5 separate regions of the Homo sapiens genome follow, and regions 2, 3, 4 and 5 are each linked to region 1. Evidence: promoter capture Hi-C in 16 types of primary human blood cells and fetal thymus (Javierre and others, 2016). All regions are on one chromosome and are shown on one strand. Each heading gives the region's core, a stretch centred on a gene start or on the middle of the fragment in contact. The rest is flanking DNA. Distances are from core to core; before and after follow the strand shown.

Region 1 (3,040 bases), core at 164-2,663:
AGCCTGGGCAACAAGAGCAAAACTCCATCTCAAAAAATAATAATAATACAAAAATTAGCCAGATATGGTGGCCCGCACCTGTAGTCCCAGCTACTCAGGAGGCTGAGGCGGGAGGATCACTTGAGCCTGGGAGTTTGAGGCTGCAGTGAGCCAAGACCATGCTACTGTAGTCCAGCCGTGATGACAGAATGAAACCCTGTCTCCAAAAACCAAAAAAATGCTACAAAATTACATTAGGAGTACATTTCAGCTAAAATGGAGACTCATGAGTTCCATGTAGCCTACCAGAAAGCCTAGCTTCAGTGCTGCTACCAAGTTCTTTCTTGCCAGGCTGTAAGTATTGTTTAATATCAGTATTTCTACCCACTTTTGTACACTCTAGTGGTATTAGGGTGTGGTTGGTTAGGGTTTTTTTCTTATTTTCATTGTTTTGGTCGGGGGAGGTTTTAAAGTAATCCTTGACCTATATATATAGATTTTTGACATCCCCTGGTACATAGAAATCCATACATCTTTCTCCTCTACACCCCTTTTCCCCCCAATTCATTGTGGTTGTAGGTGTTTATGTGAGTTCACACTAGGCTCATTGGTTTATATCATTTGTTTAACGGTTATCACATGGACATGTCAATGCTAGTTTGACTCTAAATGGTTCAACCTTACAATGGGAATGTTCTTCCTTGTTCTCTATCATTGGTCCTTTTTTGGAGGGGAAGGGATGAAAGGGGCTCCTGAATCATCACTGCTTGAAACAAAAGCAAGATGGCTGGGACAATGTCACAGTTTCATTTACATGGACAGGTTTCTGTAAGCTTTAGGTACATACCAAAGGGCATGGTGTGAGTAAATGGGGATCAAATGAGGACCCTTTACTTGGAGTGCTGCAAGGCAAAGGTGCACTTTTTGTAAGTTGCATACAGCAAGAGGATAGAGCGCAGCATCTGTTTGCACATAGTGACTGTCATCTGAATCTGAGGCTCCTTCAGTCCAATGGGCCACTGGTGCTCCCTGCTAATGATTTTGCAAAAGGCTGACTTGTCTGAAACTCTGAAAGTCCCGGTCCACTTTGGTGGCTGAGCTGTGATAACCCTGCCAAAGACAGAATCTACTCCACTGAGGCGGATGGGCTGGGGCTTCCTGACCAGTCCTTTGTTGTTCATCGTGCGCAACTCTGATGTGTGGCAGGGTAACTTGGGACTCACTCCAGATTCCAGGAATGGGCTGTCTAGGACTAGAGTGACCTCTTGAAAGCACAGCTGCACTTCAAGGTCGGACGGTGTGTGTGGGAAGCAGGGGGAGGCCTTGAATGGGTGCTTGGAGGAAGGTGTAGGTGTCGTGTGCCGCAGCCATTGGAAACTCTCATCCAGTGGGGTCCATGGTGACCAGAGCTGGTATCCTGCCATTGACAGTCCTAAAGGAGGGAAATCAGAGCATGGAATTTCCCTGACATGCTTTTCATGAGAGCATGGCCTTTCAAATTCCCATCTCTGTCTCACTATAGACATAAACTTGTTCTATAGTTCCCATGAATAGATTCCAACAGGTGTTAGGATATTAGTAATTATTTTATTTTATTTTATTTTTTCTTTTTTGAGACAAGAGTCTCGCTCTGTCACTCAGGCTGGAGTGCAGTGGAGCGATCTTGGCTCACTGTATTTTTTTGTAGTGACAGAGTTTTGCCATGTTGGCCAGGCTGCTCTCCAACTCCTGACCTCAGGTGATCCACCGCCTCGGCCTCCCAAAGTGCTGGGATTATAGGCGTGACCCACTTCGCCCAGCCTAGATATTAGTAATTCTAATAAAGGGAAGTAGGGAATGATTACAAGTATTGATCTGGCAACTGCTATGTGTACTAAAACTTTATATTAAACTTTTTCACAAGCCTTTGGAAGTAGGTCTTAACCCATTTTATAGATGAGGCAATGGATTTGTCTGAAATGAATATAGGTCCACTGTTAGGACCTATGCTGTGTTGTTAGCTGCTAATGACAGAGTCTTTATCTTCTGAGGTGACAGAAGCTTCTGGGACTTCATGATGAGACCTTATTACTTGAGATTAGAAGAAGCTCAGAAAAGTCATGTCTTAAAAATATTTGTGGCTGGACACAGTGGCTCATGCCTATAATCCCAGCACTTTGGGAGGCTGAGGCGGGCGGATCACTTGAGGTCAGAGTTCCAGAACAGCCTGGCCAACATGGTGAAACCCTGTCTCTACTAAAAATACAAAAATTAGCCGGGCGTGGTGGCGCATGCCTGTAGTCCCAGCTCTGTGGGGAGGCTGAGGTGTGAGAATTGCTTTAACCCAGGAGGCGGAGGTTGCAGTGAGTCAAGATCGCACCACTGCACTCCAGCCTGGGTGAAAGAGCAAGACTCCATCTAAAAAAAAAAAAAAAAAAAAAATTATATATATATATATATATATATATATATATATATATATATATATATATTTTGAGGTTCGCGATGTATGAACCCTGTAGTAGCAGCTTCAGCATCATTTGGAAACTTGCAGAAATGCACATTTTTGGGCCCCACCTCAGACCAACAGGAACAAACTCCACGTGGGACCCAGCAATCTGCATTTATATAAGCCCTCTTGCATTGTCTATTTTGAGAATTTCTTATGCTATTCCTTTCAAACAACTCTAGCTTTCACTATTCATTACTGAGATCATCTCCTGGCCCCAAAGGCCTCTGCATTTTCTAGCACAAGGGAGCAACTTGCAGACCCCTGGGTTATTTATATACCACCTCAGAGGAGCTACACCAGGCTGGGAGAAAACACTTCCAAAGTCCAGTCAAAAAACTGTTAAAGATTTTTGTTTTTCTAGGTGTGGGTGTGGTTTTAAATTTGTTTTTCTGATTTGTTTGTTTTCCATCTATGGAAGACCTACTGGTTCCATAAGACCTTAATTTTCTTTTTCCTTTGAAGATTAAAAAGGGCTGTGAGGATATTGCTAACTGAAAATTTATGCAAGTAAAATTAGAATTTTCCATCATTCTCCTTCAACATTGCCAGTATATAAGAAGTTTTACTAAA
Region 2 (3,040 bases), core at 295-2,794, 460 kb before region 1:
ACTGAAAGTGGTCAGGAGGAGGGTTCCGGGGCGCTGGTGTACATATCATACTTCTATTAAAAGTTTAACAAAAACGAATTACTTTCATTCAGACTGGGTATTAGACCACATTAAGGAATATTGTTAATTTTCTTAGGCATGTTAATAGCCTTATATTTTTTATGTATTTTTTTTTTGAAGTACAAATCTGTTGTGATAAATGCTTAAGTATTCACAGCTGAAATAATGTGATGTCTGGGATTTGCTTTAAAATAATTCCCTGGATGGGAAGGGACTGCTTAAACAGGATAGATAAGCAGATGTTGATTATTGTTCAAAACCAGTTAATGGGTACATGAGGGTTCATTATACTATTGTCTCCACTTTTGCGAATGTCTGAAATATTCTAATAATAATAATAATGAGAGGCTTCTCATCACAGAATTTCAAGGCAGTCGCTTCACCTCCCTGACTCCCAGTTTCTACCTCAATAAAATAGGGCTGATGATATAATGCACTGTACTCACAGGGATGTTGTGAGCAGCAGGGGGAGAAAGGGTTTTATGAAATGTTGTGTTTTTGTTTTTGTTTTAGAGACGGAGTCTCATTCTGTCACCCAGGCTGGAGTGCAGTGGCGCGATCTCGGCTCACTCTCCGCCTCCCGGGTTCAAGCAATTCTCCTGCCTCAGCCTCCCGAGTAGCTGGGATTACAGGCACCTGCCACCACGCGCGGCTAATTTTTGTATTTTTAGTAGAGACGGGGTTTCACTGCGTTGATCAGGCTGGTCTCGAATGCCTCACTTCATAATCCGCCTGCCTCGGCCTACCAAAGTGCTGGGATTACAGGCGTGAGACACCGCGGCCGGCTGAAATGTTTTAATATTGGTAACCACTGCCATTATGGTTTCTAGTACTAATTTGTTGCCTCCAAGCGTTCTCTCCTCCTCGCCCTGTAATTTTTTTTTTTTCTTAAGACAGAGTATTGCTCTGTCACCCAGGCTGGAGTGTAGTGGTTCGATTTCGGCTCATTGCAACCTCAGCCTCATGGGTTCAAGCGATTCTCCTGCCTCAGCCTCCCAAGTAGTTGGGATTACAGGTGGGTGTCACCATGCCCGGCTAATTTTTTTATTTTTAGTAGAGATGCGGTTTCACCATTTTGGCAGCCTGGTCTCGAACTCTTGGCCTCAAGTGATCCGCCCGCCTCGGCCCCCCAAAGTGCTGGGATGACAGGTGTGAGCCACCACGCTCGGCTTCCCTGTAATTGTTGATTCCACTTTTCCTCTGGTTCTTTTCAATGGTTCCTTCCTGCTACCCCCCTCCCCCGGCAGCCCAATGGTTGAGCCCGGCTTCCCCGGGGGAAACCCCTTGGGGCGGATCACGCGGTATCAGCCAGTGGCCTCCCTGGTGGATAGAAGGATCGCTCTGCGCCGGGGGCGGGCCAGTAATCGTAGGCGGGGCGCGGGTCCAGAGCTCCGATTGGCCAGAGTCGGAGTAAACATCCGGCGGGACGGGGCGGGGCCGGAAGTGGAAGTGGAAGTAGAAGGCGGTGGCTGAGGCGGTTCCGGAGGTTCTAGTGTCGGAGTTGGGTGCAGGCAGGTGCCATGGGCCCGCTTGAGGCACACTGAGGGGACGCGGGGCTGGGCCATGGCCGGCGCTCGGGCCGCCGCCGCCGCTGCCTCGGCGGGGTCCTCGGCCTCTTCAGGCAACCAGCCGCCTCAGGAGCTGGGGCTTGGGGAGCTGCTGGAGGAGTTCTCCCGGACTCAGTACCGGGCCAAGGATGGCAGCGGGACCGGCGGCTCTAAGGTGAGATTGGAGGTGCGATGAGCTGGGGAAGGCTCCTAACTTGGGAAGTTACAGAGGAAAGGCTGAGGCCAGGGGTCAGAAAAAGGTAGGAGTGGTACCTCGCCGCTGAGGAAGAGGAGAGAGAGAGAGGAGTTCTCCAGGGTCTGTATCCGGAGTATAAGAGTCGGTCTTGACAACCATAAAAGGAGGAACTGGGGTCAGAATGAGCCCAGCAAAGAGGTCCTTCTTGTTTGAGAAGGGGTCTGGAGGTGAGAGATCAAGCTGAGGGGCCAGGTTCAAAGATCAGAGAGGAGGACCTAAGGAAGGTCTATTCCCTGCTTCAGGTGCCGTAGGATGAGTTGTGTCAGGGAAAAAGCCCCAAGAAAAAGCTAAGAAAAATAGGGAGACGATTCCTCGGGGTCAGAGGTCAGAATGGAGCCAGGAGGTGAACCCAGTGTGCTGCCCCCTTATAAGGTCTCAGCATGACTTAGGCCCATCCCTTTCCTTCCCCTATAGAGCAGGAAGACAACCCACACTCCCTTTCAGTTCCTTTATCTAAAGCAGGTCTCCGTTCCTCTTTTTGCTCCCTTTGGGATTTCCACCCAGTCGTCTTATCGCCAGACCTGGAGGGCTTCCTGTCAGCTCAGGCCATCCCCACCCTAAGCACTGGCTGGCAGTGCGGTGGGAATCTTGCCGACCCTGCCATCTCATTCCCCCACGTGGTTTTGGCAGCTTTAGCACCAAGTTTTCCAGTGGAATTCTGTTCCATCCTGCACCACAGAACTCTGATTTGACCTCAGAGATTACCGTGAGTTGCTATTCTGTAGTTGGCATCTTGTAGTCTCTGAAGTAACCCAGGGAAGACTTCAGTAAGGATTGGACTTCCTCACTCTCCAAATGGCCAAGTAATTTTTCCAAGTATAGTCTGGGGACCACCTGTTTAATGATCATCTGGGGTACTTTTAAAATTTGTGCTTATGGGATACTTTGTGAAAACAGAGATTCCTTAGTCCCACCCAGTCCTACCAAGTCAGAATTTCTGGGGGTGGGATCCTGGAATTTGCTTTTTTTTTTTTTTTCTTTTGAGAAGGAGTCTCGCTTTGTCGCCTAGGCTGGAGTGCAGTGGCGCAATCTCAGCTTACTGCATCCTCCGCCTCCCCAGTTCAAGCAATTCTCCCTGCCTCAACTTCCCAAGTAGCTGGGATTACAGGACCCCACCACCACGCCCAGCTAATTATTGTAGTTTTTAGTAGAGATGGAGTTTCCCCAGGTTGGCCAG
Region 3 (3,040 bases), core at 143-2,642, 400 kb before region 1:
GTTCTCATTGTCCTTCCTTGTGCTGGACAAGGGGTTTTTATGTGGAGGGCAGGTGAAACAGGAAGAGAACTGGCGACAGGTATACCTCTCCACTCATGAGCCATGGTAGTCCCTGCAGTGGGGACAACACTCAAGACTGTTGAGAGTAGTGGTTCTCGGGCCTAAGCAGGTCCTAGTCACCTAGAGAGCCTGATGAGCTGTGCACATTCCCAGGGCTGCCTGAGCTTTAGCCTTAGGGTTGCTAAGGAAGTTGCCTGGGAATTAGGAGCTGGAGGATCTTCATTTTTTTCAGATTTTTTGAGATGGAGTCTCACTGTTACCCAAGCTGGAGTGCAATGGCACAATCTTGGCTCACTGCAACCCCTGCCTCCTGGGTTCAAGCGATCCTCCTGCCTCAGTCTCCTGAGTAGCTACGTGAACGTGCCACCATCCCCAGCTAATTTTTGTATTTAGTAGAGATGGGGTTTCACCATGTTGGCCAGGCCAGTCTCAAACTCCTGAGCTCAAGTGATCTGCCTGCCTTGGCCTCCTAAAGTGCTGGGATTACAGGCATGAGCCACCGTACCTGACCAGGATCTTCATCTTTAACAAGTTCTGTAGGCAGCAGGGTCCTGGTACGGGTGACCTGCATCCCCTACCTTGAGCCCTGCCTATGGAGGAAGGACTGGCTTCTGAAGCTTTGGAGATAGCAATTGGTGTGCATGTGTGGTGGGTGAGAGCCTGGCTGACCACCACCCTCTTCTACAGTGTAACCTACAGTAGATTGCGTCATGAGAGTGTGTCCGCATCTGTAACGCCATGAAAGTCGTGAGGGTTAAAGGCATGGGCAGACAGCTTTGCACGGTGCTCAACAGCCACCATTTACTGTCATCATTGTGAATACCCAGAGGACAAATCATAAATACCAGTGAATGTTTACTGAGCACTTGCTGTGTGCTAAGTGTTTTCCTTGGGTTATCTCAGTAAAATTTTACAGCACCTAAAGTAGCTGCTGTTAAAGGCCTTTCTGACGGCCTTTCACGGTTGAGCCACAGAGATGTTGAGTAACTTGTCCAAGGTCACACAGCTACTAAGAGATGTACTTTTCCTATTCAGAGACCTAGGCAGGCTGGGAGTGGGAAAAGACAGAAACACTAAGGGAGTGGCTCAGTAAGAGGCAACAATTCCAGTGCCCACCAGGTGCCCCAAATGTTTCAGCATCATGGACAACTCTAGGGGGCTTGGGTTTCCACCCCAGAGACTTGCGCAGGGCAGACTCTACCAAGGTGTGGGTTGGAGTTGGGAGTCGGGGTGAGGTTCCCCGCTGGCTCCAGGCTGCTCCAATGGGGCGGGGGCCGCCCGCAGGGCCGGGCGGGGCTGTGCTGCCATCTGGAGCCGCTGCCGCCGGCGGCCACTGTCAGGGCGCGAGCGGCTGGAGCGCACGCAGGGCTGGAGCGAGTGCAGCCGCCGCCGCCGCCGACACCGCGGCACATGGGCCGGCCCCGCCGCTGCCGTCGCCCCTAGCCCCAGCAGCCCTGGTCTCGCAGCCTCCTGCGGCTCTGGTCGCCCGACCAGCCATGTCTCTCGGCGGAGCCTCCGAGCGCAGCGTCCCGGCCACCAAGATTGAAATTACCGTGTCCTGCCGGTGAGCGGGCCGCGCTGGGGAGGGCTTAGGCACTGGCACTGCCCCAGCCCCAGCCAGCCGCGGGGCTCAGCCTGGGCAGGGGCTAGACCCCCGGGGAGAGGCGAAATTGGCTGGAAAATCACAGCTGATGACAGGGCGAGTAGCTGGTGGGATCGAGAAGCGGGGGGTCTTGGGCAGCCCCACCCCGAAAAAAGGGCTCAGCCTGCGGGTTCAGGGGGTGGGTCGCAGATATCCGGTAGGAGCTCGGCCCCAGGAGGACAAAGTTCTGGGGCGAGCCCTCTTTCCTGGGCCCTTGGAGACAGTGTGGGTGCGTTCGCGTCCAGTCCGCAGAGCCATGGTTCCTGGACAGCGATTTCCGGTGCTGTCCAGAGTGCTGACAGAGCGGACCCCGGCTGGGGGTAGCCATGGGGGACAGAGGTTCGATGCGGGCCCCATGCCTCTCCTCAGTGCCCGGCTCAGAGCCGACTCGAGGCGGGCGGACTCCAGGATGATCCACTCTGTCTGTCTGTTGCTTTTCTCTAGGAACCTGCTAGACCTTGATACCTTCTCCAAGTCCGACCCCAGTAGGCGGCTCCAGGACCGGGAGGGGGAACTTGGGGTCTGGGCGCGACTCAGGGGCGGGTGGAGTCGGGGCCAGGGGTGGGAGCCGACCTGACGTCCTTCCCTCCCCGCCCCCACCTGCAGTGGTGGTGCTTTACACGCAGAGCCGGGCCAGCCAGGAGTGGCGGGAGGTGAGTCCCAGAGCCCCCTCCCGGCCCAGGGCGTCGCCCGGGAATTCCCCTGCCCGTCTGCACGTCCCACGCTGACCCTCCACCCCCCTACCCAGTTCGGACGGACCGAGGTGATTGATAACACGCTGAACCCAGACTTCGTGCGCAAATTCGTCCTCGACTATTTCTTTGAGGAAAAGCAAAATCTGCGCTTCGATGTGTGAGGCCCCGCCTGGAATTCTGGCTTGGCCCGCCCCCGACCTGGATCCGCCCGGAATTCTGGCTGGCCCCACCCCCGCCTCGCCTCCGGCCTGGTTCTTCTCGCAGGCCTCCCTCCCATTCTGAATGGCCCCCTCTAGCCTGAGCCCTGCCCTTTTATGAGATGCGGTCCAGTTCCGTCCCCCGCTCTGGCCCCGCCCACAACTCTGCTCCTATCGCAGCTCCACCTCAGGCCCGACCCCTTCCACACAACCCTGCCCCCAGCAGCCCCTGACTTGGCCTCGGCCCAGGCTTGACCGTCTGACTACTCAGCCCACCCTGACTCCTCCCCAAAAGGAGACCAAAGCTGAATTCGGGTCCACGGCCGCCCATCCCTCCACCCAAAATTTTCACCAAGACTCGGTGCCCGACCCCTTTCCACCCTCTCCCCCACCCAGCCCCACCCCACACCGGTTCCACTCTTTTCCCAGGTACAACGTGGACTCCA
Region 4 (3,040 bases), core at 373-2,872, 330 kb before region 1:
AACAGCCACAGCTGGAGCTCCCCAGACCTCTCCCTCCTGACTCCCCATCTGGGTCCCGGGAGCATGAGAAATGGTCCTGCTCACTCTGTCCCTTCCTGGCCCCATCTAACCCTATCCAGCCTGGCCCTTCCTCTGCTGAGGTCTGTCTCATCCAGCAGGAGAGGGTGGGAGTTCTCTCCCATTTATCAGATGAAGAATGGGGAGACTGAGGTTGGAGTTAGGTAGAGGCTGGCTCCAGAGGCCCTAATGACACCTGGCCTGGGGCCCCCAGCTAAGCTTGCTGAGGGCAAAGGCCATCGAATGGCCTTGGCTGGTACTTCCAATATGAAGCCAGAATGGGCCCCATTCAGAGAACACAGCCTCCCAACCCATCCACAGATGAGGCCAAAACAGAGCCCAGCATGCTTTGTGACCTCAGGGAGAGCACTTTCCTTCTCTCTTTTTCTCTAAGGGAGAATGAGGAGAAGGTGCCCTGACTAGGGCCTCTGGTGTGAGATTCCACTCCTGGAACAGGACCTTTTTCCCAGGGGACCCTGCCCACCCATCCAGGGGCAGAATCTTCTAGGAAAGGAGACTCGAGTGTAAGCTCTAGAGGCAGAGTCTGAAACCCACATGGAGGCCTACCAAATACAACCCTCACAGATCCACACACATCCCTGTAGCAGACATGCCACACCAAGCCCCCTCCACAGCCCTGAACTCAAACACCTGCCTCCCAGATCCAGTACGCCTTGTATCCACATCCCGTGACACCTGATCATACATGTACTCCCAGACATCAGCACACATGTCCACACCACACAGTGCCCCAGACAGCCCTGCACCCGAACACCTGCCTGTCCATCCAAACATCCCTCACCCAGCTCCCTCTTACACCCCAAAACACACATCCACCCGCACCCACACAAGATGACACCCAGACACACACACACACACCCTCATATACCAGACGTACCCTACACCCTCCAGCTCCTCTACCCCATCCCCTGGAAGCTCCTGTATTCCAAACCAAACCCCAAGTCCTTACACACCTAACTCCAAACATCCTCAGTACACAATTGTACACCCCCTCCTAACTCTGACTTAAGACCCTGAGAGCCAAATACCAGCACACAAAACACGTGGACACCCCTCTGGAACAAAAAACACACAGATTCCCAGATCCTCCACCCATGTCTGACCCACACGCCTGTCCTAAGACAGTACACTCCGCAAGCCCCCCCACCCCATGGATACCTCCAAATGCCCACGCCCTTCCAGTCAGGCCCAGCTGAAGGCGCTCACACAGGCCCCCTTCTCTATTACCCACTCAGTGTCCCATAGGCCCGCCTGGCACCTGCTGGGCCTGGGACAGAGGTGGAGAAAGGCCCAGCCCTGCCCCTCAGGGTCCAGCCCGCCCGGGAGAGTGCCCAGTGGCCACTCCTTGGGAAAGGATACCCAGAGGCTAGGGGCTCCCACCGCCCCCACGCAGCGCCCAGGGGTGCAGGGATGGGGGGCCCGGCTGTACCTGCGGCTGCCCCGCCGCGGGGCTGGCTGGGAGGCCCGCGGTGGTTGGCGCCGAGCTGTGGCCGCGGTCCTCACCGCTGCGTGCCTGGGCCACCCGCCCGCGCTCTTGCTGGAGCTGGGGCTCGGCTCGGCTCGGCGGCTCTCTCCGCCCGCCTGCGGCTCTGATGTCAGTGGAGGTGGAGCCTGCGGCGGAGGGACCCGGGATTGGGAGGCGAGGCACCGCTCCAAGGCTGGGGAAGGGGCACGGGTGGAGGCCATCTCCCTGCTTCTGGTCAGAGATCTCCTGCTGGACGCTTCCCGCCCTTGGTCTTAAGCGGGGTCCATTTCACAGAGGGGACAACTGAGGCCCGGAGAGATGATTTTCAAATCAGCGGGTGGTCGGAAGCAAAGCAGGATTCGAACCCCGTCTGTCTGAAGCTAGAGGCCGGCCAAACTCACCCTGTGGCCTGGTGGATTTTCTTTCAGACCAGTTCTGCGACCTCCCTTAGGGCTCTGTCTCCCTTCTCCGTGCCCTGAAGGGAAACAGGCCCTGGAACTGCACGGGAGTCTGGTGGGGGATGGGGGAGTGAGGGAGTGGGGAAGGACCGGGCAAGACTAGGCAATGAAGAGAGTGGAGGTGGTCGCAGGGTGTGGGCCCCACTTGACAGGTGGGAAGACTGAGGCCCCGGTTCCTCTGCAAGATGGAGCTGAGGCTTCAGCCCCAGACACTTGCTCCTCAGAGCGGGTGGTGGTGCCTAGAGGTATTGGGGGCAGAGGGAATTGGGGAGGAGGAAGTTAAATCGGGATCCTGAAGGAAACAGGCCAAAAAGGACCGAGGTGTCACGTGACTGGCGGGGCTCCAGAGTTTGATGGCTGGGGTCCAGGTTAGGGGAGAGAGCCTGCAACTAGGACGGCAGGCAAGAGGCCAAAGGTCGGTTTGCTCAAGGCCTTCCTTGGGAAGAAATTTGGTGCCGAGTGGAAAGAGGGGGCGGGGGGAGCAACTCGCAGGAATTGGGGATGGGGCTGAACTGGGGGCAGCCGGAGGAGGCACGTTGCTTGGGACCCCACTCCACCTCCAAGGGCCTCCAAGTGCCACTCCCTACTCCTGAATTCTTGCATGTTCCAGCTGGTGATGGGGAGAGAACAGTGCTTATGCCCAGCTCATTTCCTTTTTCTCTTTCTTTCTTTCTTTTTTCTTTCTTTCTCTTCTTCTTTTTTTCTTTTTCTTTTTTTTTTAAGACAGGGTCTTGCTCTGTCACCCAGGCTGGAGTGCAATGGCATGATCACGGCCCACTGCAGCCTCAAACTCCTGGGCTCAAGTCATCTTCCTACCTCAGCCTCCCATGTAGATGGGACTACAGGTGCGTGCCACCACACCTGGCTTTTTTATTTTTTGTAGAGATGGGGATCTCACTATATTGCCCAGGCTGGTCTCAAACTCCTGGGCTCAAGCAATCCTCCCCAATCAGCTTCCCAAGGTTCTGGAATTACAGGCATGAGCCACTGCACCTGGCCAATTTATTATGCCCATCTTACAGATGAGAGAGGAAGATAG
Region 5 (3,040 bases), core at 406-2,905, 260 kb before region 1:
GACTCTCAGACATGAGTTAACTACCCCACACCAAATTCAACTTCTTTCTGTTCCTCTGCCACCTCAGAGCCTCGGCACTTGCTGTTTCCTGTCCCCAAATTTCCCAGGTCTGGCTCCCTATCATCTTGGCTCAAATGTCACATCACGGAGAGGTCTGAATCTCCAATCTAATGTCTGCCTTCCTCCTGCAGTTCCTCACCATCATAACACCCTGTTTTAGTTTATGCATAGCACTTACCACTAGTAACTTGTTCATTTATTTTCTGACATCCATTTCTCCCGTTAGAGAGAAATCCATTTCTCCCCTGAGAGCAGAAACCATATCTATCTTTTTCAGCACTGTATAGCCTGCCTAGAACAGTGCCTGGAACATAGCATATGTTCAAGAAATAGTTGAGAAAAGGAATAAATCACTGAATAGAGAGTGGGGTTCAGAGAAATTCAGTTATTTTCCTAAAGCCGCACAGCAAGCTGATCACAGAGCCTAGGTATGTCTGACTCCAAAGCCTGTGTTTTGTCCGTCGATAAATAATCATTATTTATTTATTTATTTATTTAGACTGAGTCTTGCTCTGTCATCCCAGGCTGGAGCGCAGTAGCACGATGTCGGCTCACTGCAACCTCTGCTATCCGGGTTCAAGTGACTCTCCTGCCTCAGCCTCCCGAGTAGCTGGGATTACAGGCGGACGCCGCCACACCTGGCTAATTTTTGTGTTTTTAGTAGAGACGGGGTTTCACCATGTTGGCCAGGCTAGTCTCGAACTCCTGACCTCAGGTGATCCGCCCGCGTCAGCACCCTAAAGTGCCGGGATTACAGGCGTGAGCCACCGCGGCCAATAAACAATAATCTAGTATAGCAACTCCCGTAACTGAGCGCCGGCTATGTGCAAGGCTCGGTAGTTATTTGCATCTTCTCCCCACTCTTAACCCTACTGCATCATGGCAGTAGGGTTAAAAGCGGGGAGAGGGTGCAAATTAGGTGGCTTGTCCCAGCTCATGCTGCTAGTGGGAGGCAGAAGCAGGGCTGATCCCGTGGCTTCAATGGAGAGCCCAACTGCACGCCGAGGCAGTCCCCTCCCGGTCCTTGTGCGGCCGTGCCTCTCACCCCTCACCTTTCCGGTCCACCACGGCTGCCCGCAGCGCATCAACCAGCTCCTCCCGACTGAGGTTTTTTGGCAGCAGCCCCGCGAAGGGCTGGTCCCCGAGGGGCCCCGACCGTTGGCAGGAGCCGCGGGGTTGCCTCTGATGCCTGGACAAGGAGGGAGAAGCAATGGGAGTCATTCCATCCCGAGGTGCCACCCATTCCTATCTCCGGACGCCTCTTCCCAAATCCTGCGGCCTCTGACAAATGCCTCACAATGTCTGGGCTGACCTCGAAAATTCAGGTACGACCGGTCCCATTCTACAGCGGAGGGCACCGAGGCTCAGAGAGGCCAACGGGGCTGTTTTCGGGTAACATCTACCTGATCCAGATCCCGCACGTGCCTTCCCCCTGCCCTAGCCTCCGTCCCGCATGAGAGAGGGGGTACTTAATCACCGGGCTTCGGTGCCAAAGCCTGCGTCCTCGGGCACTGGGCGGACACCCAGGCCCCGCCGCCAGCCACTCCAGAACCGGCCCAAAACACGGCGGCCGTCCATCTCCCGAGCCAGGACAGCGCGCATGTGCGTCCAGAGGGGCAGACCCGCGCTCCAGCCAGCGCGCTGATTGGTCAGCTGGAGTGTCAATCGGAATGGTGACCGGGCGGGACTCAGAGCCTGAGGAGGCGGGGCTTTTCCTCCGCCCAGGAAGGAAATGCAGAAATGCCTTCCTATGCTTTTAGGGAGAGCGCTGTAGCAGAAGAATTTGATCTGATCAAAAAACCTGTCTTAGCAAAAAACCTGAAGCCGCCTTTGCAAAAATTATATTACAAAATTATGACAGCGAAAGAGATCTGATCTAACCAACCCGCAGCTTGCCTTTAACCTCTAAACGGTCCTTGGTCATTCCTGGGCTTGGGCCAAGCTAACTTTGGGAGAAATTAGTTCGTAGTCTAAATGATAATTGCCCTTCCCCCGAACTAAACTGGCTTCATAGAGTTAATGAAAGGCCACCAGGTTAGGAGTAGTAGAGGGACCTGAATTCTGCTAAGGGTTAGAGGTAACTGATTACCAGCGGTTATTCCGGAGGTCACAGTGTTTGCAGCTTCCCCAGCTCACGATTGTCCAACCTGAGATTGGCCTTTGGAGATGTCTTTCCAGGCTTTTGCATTTCTGACGGCCGGATCACCCCACCCGGACCCTCAACTCTTGGCTCTACTAGTCCTGTGGCCCCTCGAAGTCAGGAGATCGAGACCATCCTGGCTAACACGGTGAAACCACGTCTCCACCAAAAATACAAAAAAATTAGCCGGGCGTGGTGGCGGGCGCCTGTAGTCCCAGCTACTCGGGAGGCTGAGGCAGGAGAATGGCGTGAACCCGGGAGGCGGAGTTTGCAGTGAGCCGAGATCGTGCCACTGCACTCCAGCCTGGGCGACGAGCGAGACTCCGTCTCAAAAAAAAAAAAAAAAGAAAAAAGAAAAAGAAAGTAGAAGAACACAGAAAAAAAAGAATAATATAATGACTGCCCACATTCCTACCATCAGAATTAGTCATTGTGAAACAATATATATATGTATAGGTTTCCTGTTTTTCTTGTTTAAGAAATGAAAGGGATAAAAGTAAATTCCCCTTTACTGCGTGCTTCCAGTTTTCACTCCCTCCCCAGTCTCCACTTTGAGTTTGGTGTGAACATTTTCCTAATGTGTTTTGGTTTTTGTTTTTTGGAGACAGAGTCTCGCTCTGTCACCCAGGCTAGAGTGCAGTGGCCCGATCTCGACTCACTGCAACTTCCACCTCCCGGGTTCAAGCGATTCCCCTGCCTTTGCCTCCTGAGTAGCTGGAATTACAGGTGCGGTGCCCGCCACCACACCCGGCTAATTTTTTGTATTTTAGTGACGGGGTTTCACCATGTCGCCCAGGCTGGTCTCGAACTCCTGAGCTCAGGCAATCCGCCCGCCTTGGC

Evidence for each region. The method cuts DNA at HindIII sites, captures the fragments that hold promoters and counts their contacts. A CHiCAGO score of 5 or more calls a contact.
Region 2: the fragment with the promoter of MTMR14 here is called in contact with a fragment that was not itself captured in region 1 in 1 of 17 cell types (neutrophils); the score reaches 5.4 in neutrophils.
Region 3: the fragment with the promoter of CPNE9 here is called in contact with a fragment that was not itself captured in region 1 in 1 of 17 cell types (monocytes); the score reaches 5.8 in monocytes.
Region 4: the fragment with the promoter of CAMK1 here is called in contact with a fragment that was not itself captured in region 1 in 5 of 17 cell types (monocytes, activated CD4 T cells, neutrophils and 2 more); the score reaches 9.4 in monocytes.
Region 5: the fragment with the promoter of RPUSD3 here is called in contact with a fragment that was not itself captured in region 1 in 3 of 17 cell types (activated CD4 T cells, total CD8 T cells and naive B cells); the score reaches 6.3 in activated CD4 T cells.

The regions. Positions count from the first base shown.
Region 1 is chr3:10,103,372-10,106,411 of GRCh38, forward strand. It overlaps FANCD2OS (FANCD2 opposite strand), which reads right to left. Exons shown (of 2, transcript NM_001164839.2): 2 at 566-1,411. The coding sequence starts at 1,403. The coding sequence ends at 870. Among named protein-coding and RNA genes, the nearest start is that of FANCD2OS, 3.4 kb to the right of the region's middle. The HindIII fragment of the contact is 1,207 bases long and covers 811-2,017 here.
Region 2 is chr3:9,647,961-9,651,000 of GRCh38, forward strand. MTMR14 (myotubularin related protein 14) reads left to right here and starts at 1,545. Exons shown (of 19, transcript NM_001077525.3): 1 at 1,545-1,782. The coding sequence starts at 1,624. RefSeq lists enhancers at 1,140-1,369, 1,177-2,072, 1,359-1,528 and silencers at 1,400-1,509, 1,610-1,709. The HindIII fragment of the contact is 16,951 bases long and covers 1-3,040 here.
Region 3 is chr3:9,702,441-9,705,480 of GRCh38, forward strand. CPNE9 (copine family member 9) reads left to right here and starts at 1,393. Exons shown (of 21, transcript NM_153635.3): 1 at 1,393-1,624; 2 at 2,147-2,187; 3 at 2,309-2,355; 4 at 2,451-2,554; 5 at 3,024-3,040. The coding sequence starts at 1,557. RefSeq lists an enhancer at 1,032-1,942. The HindIII fragment of the contact is 18,760 bases long and covers 676-3,040 here.
Region 4 is chr3:9,768,325-9,771,364 of GRCh38, forward strand. CAMK1 (calcium/calmodulin dependent protein kinase I) reads right to left here and starts at 1,623. Exons shown (of 12, transcript NM_003656.5): 1 at 1,508-1,623. It also overlaps a transcript of OGG1 not described here. RefSeq lists a silencer at 1,394-1,573. The HindIII fragment of the contact is 10,493 bases long and covers 275-3,040 here.
Region 5 is chr3:9,842,353-9,845,392 of GRCh38, forward strand. It overlaps RPUSD3 (RNA pseudouridine synthase D3), which reads right to left and starts at 1,656. Exons shown (of 9, transcript NM_173659.5): 1 at 1,538-1,656; 2 at 1,113-1,249. The coding sequence starts at 1,638. RefSeq lists an enhancer at 1,519-1,598. The HindIII fragment of the contact is 7,859 bases long and covers 1-3,040 here.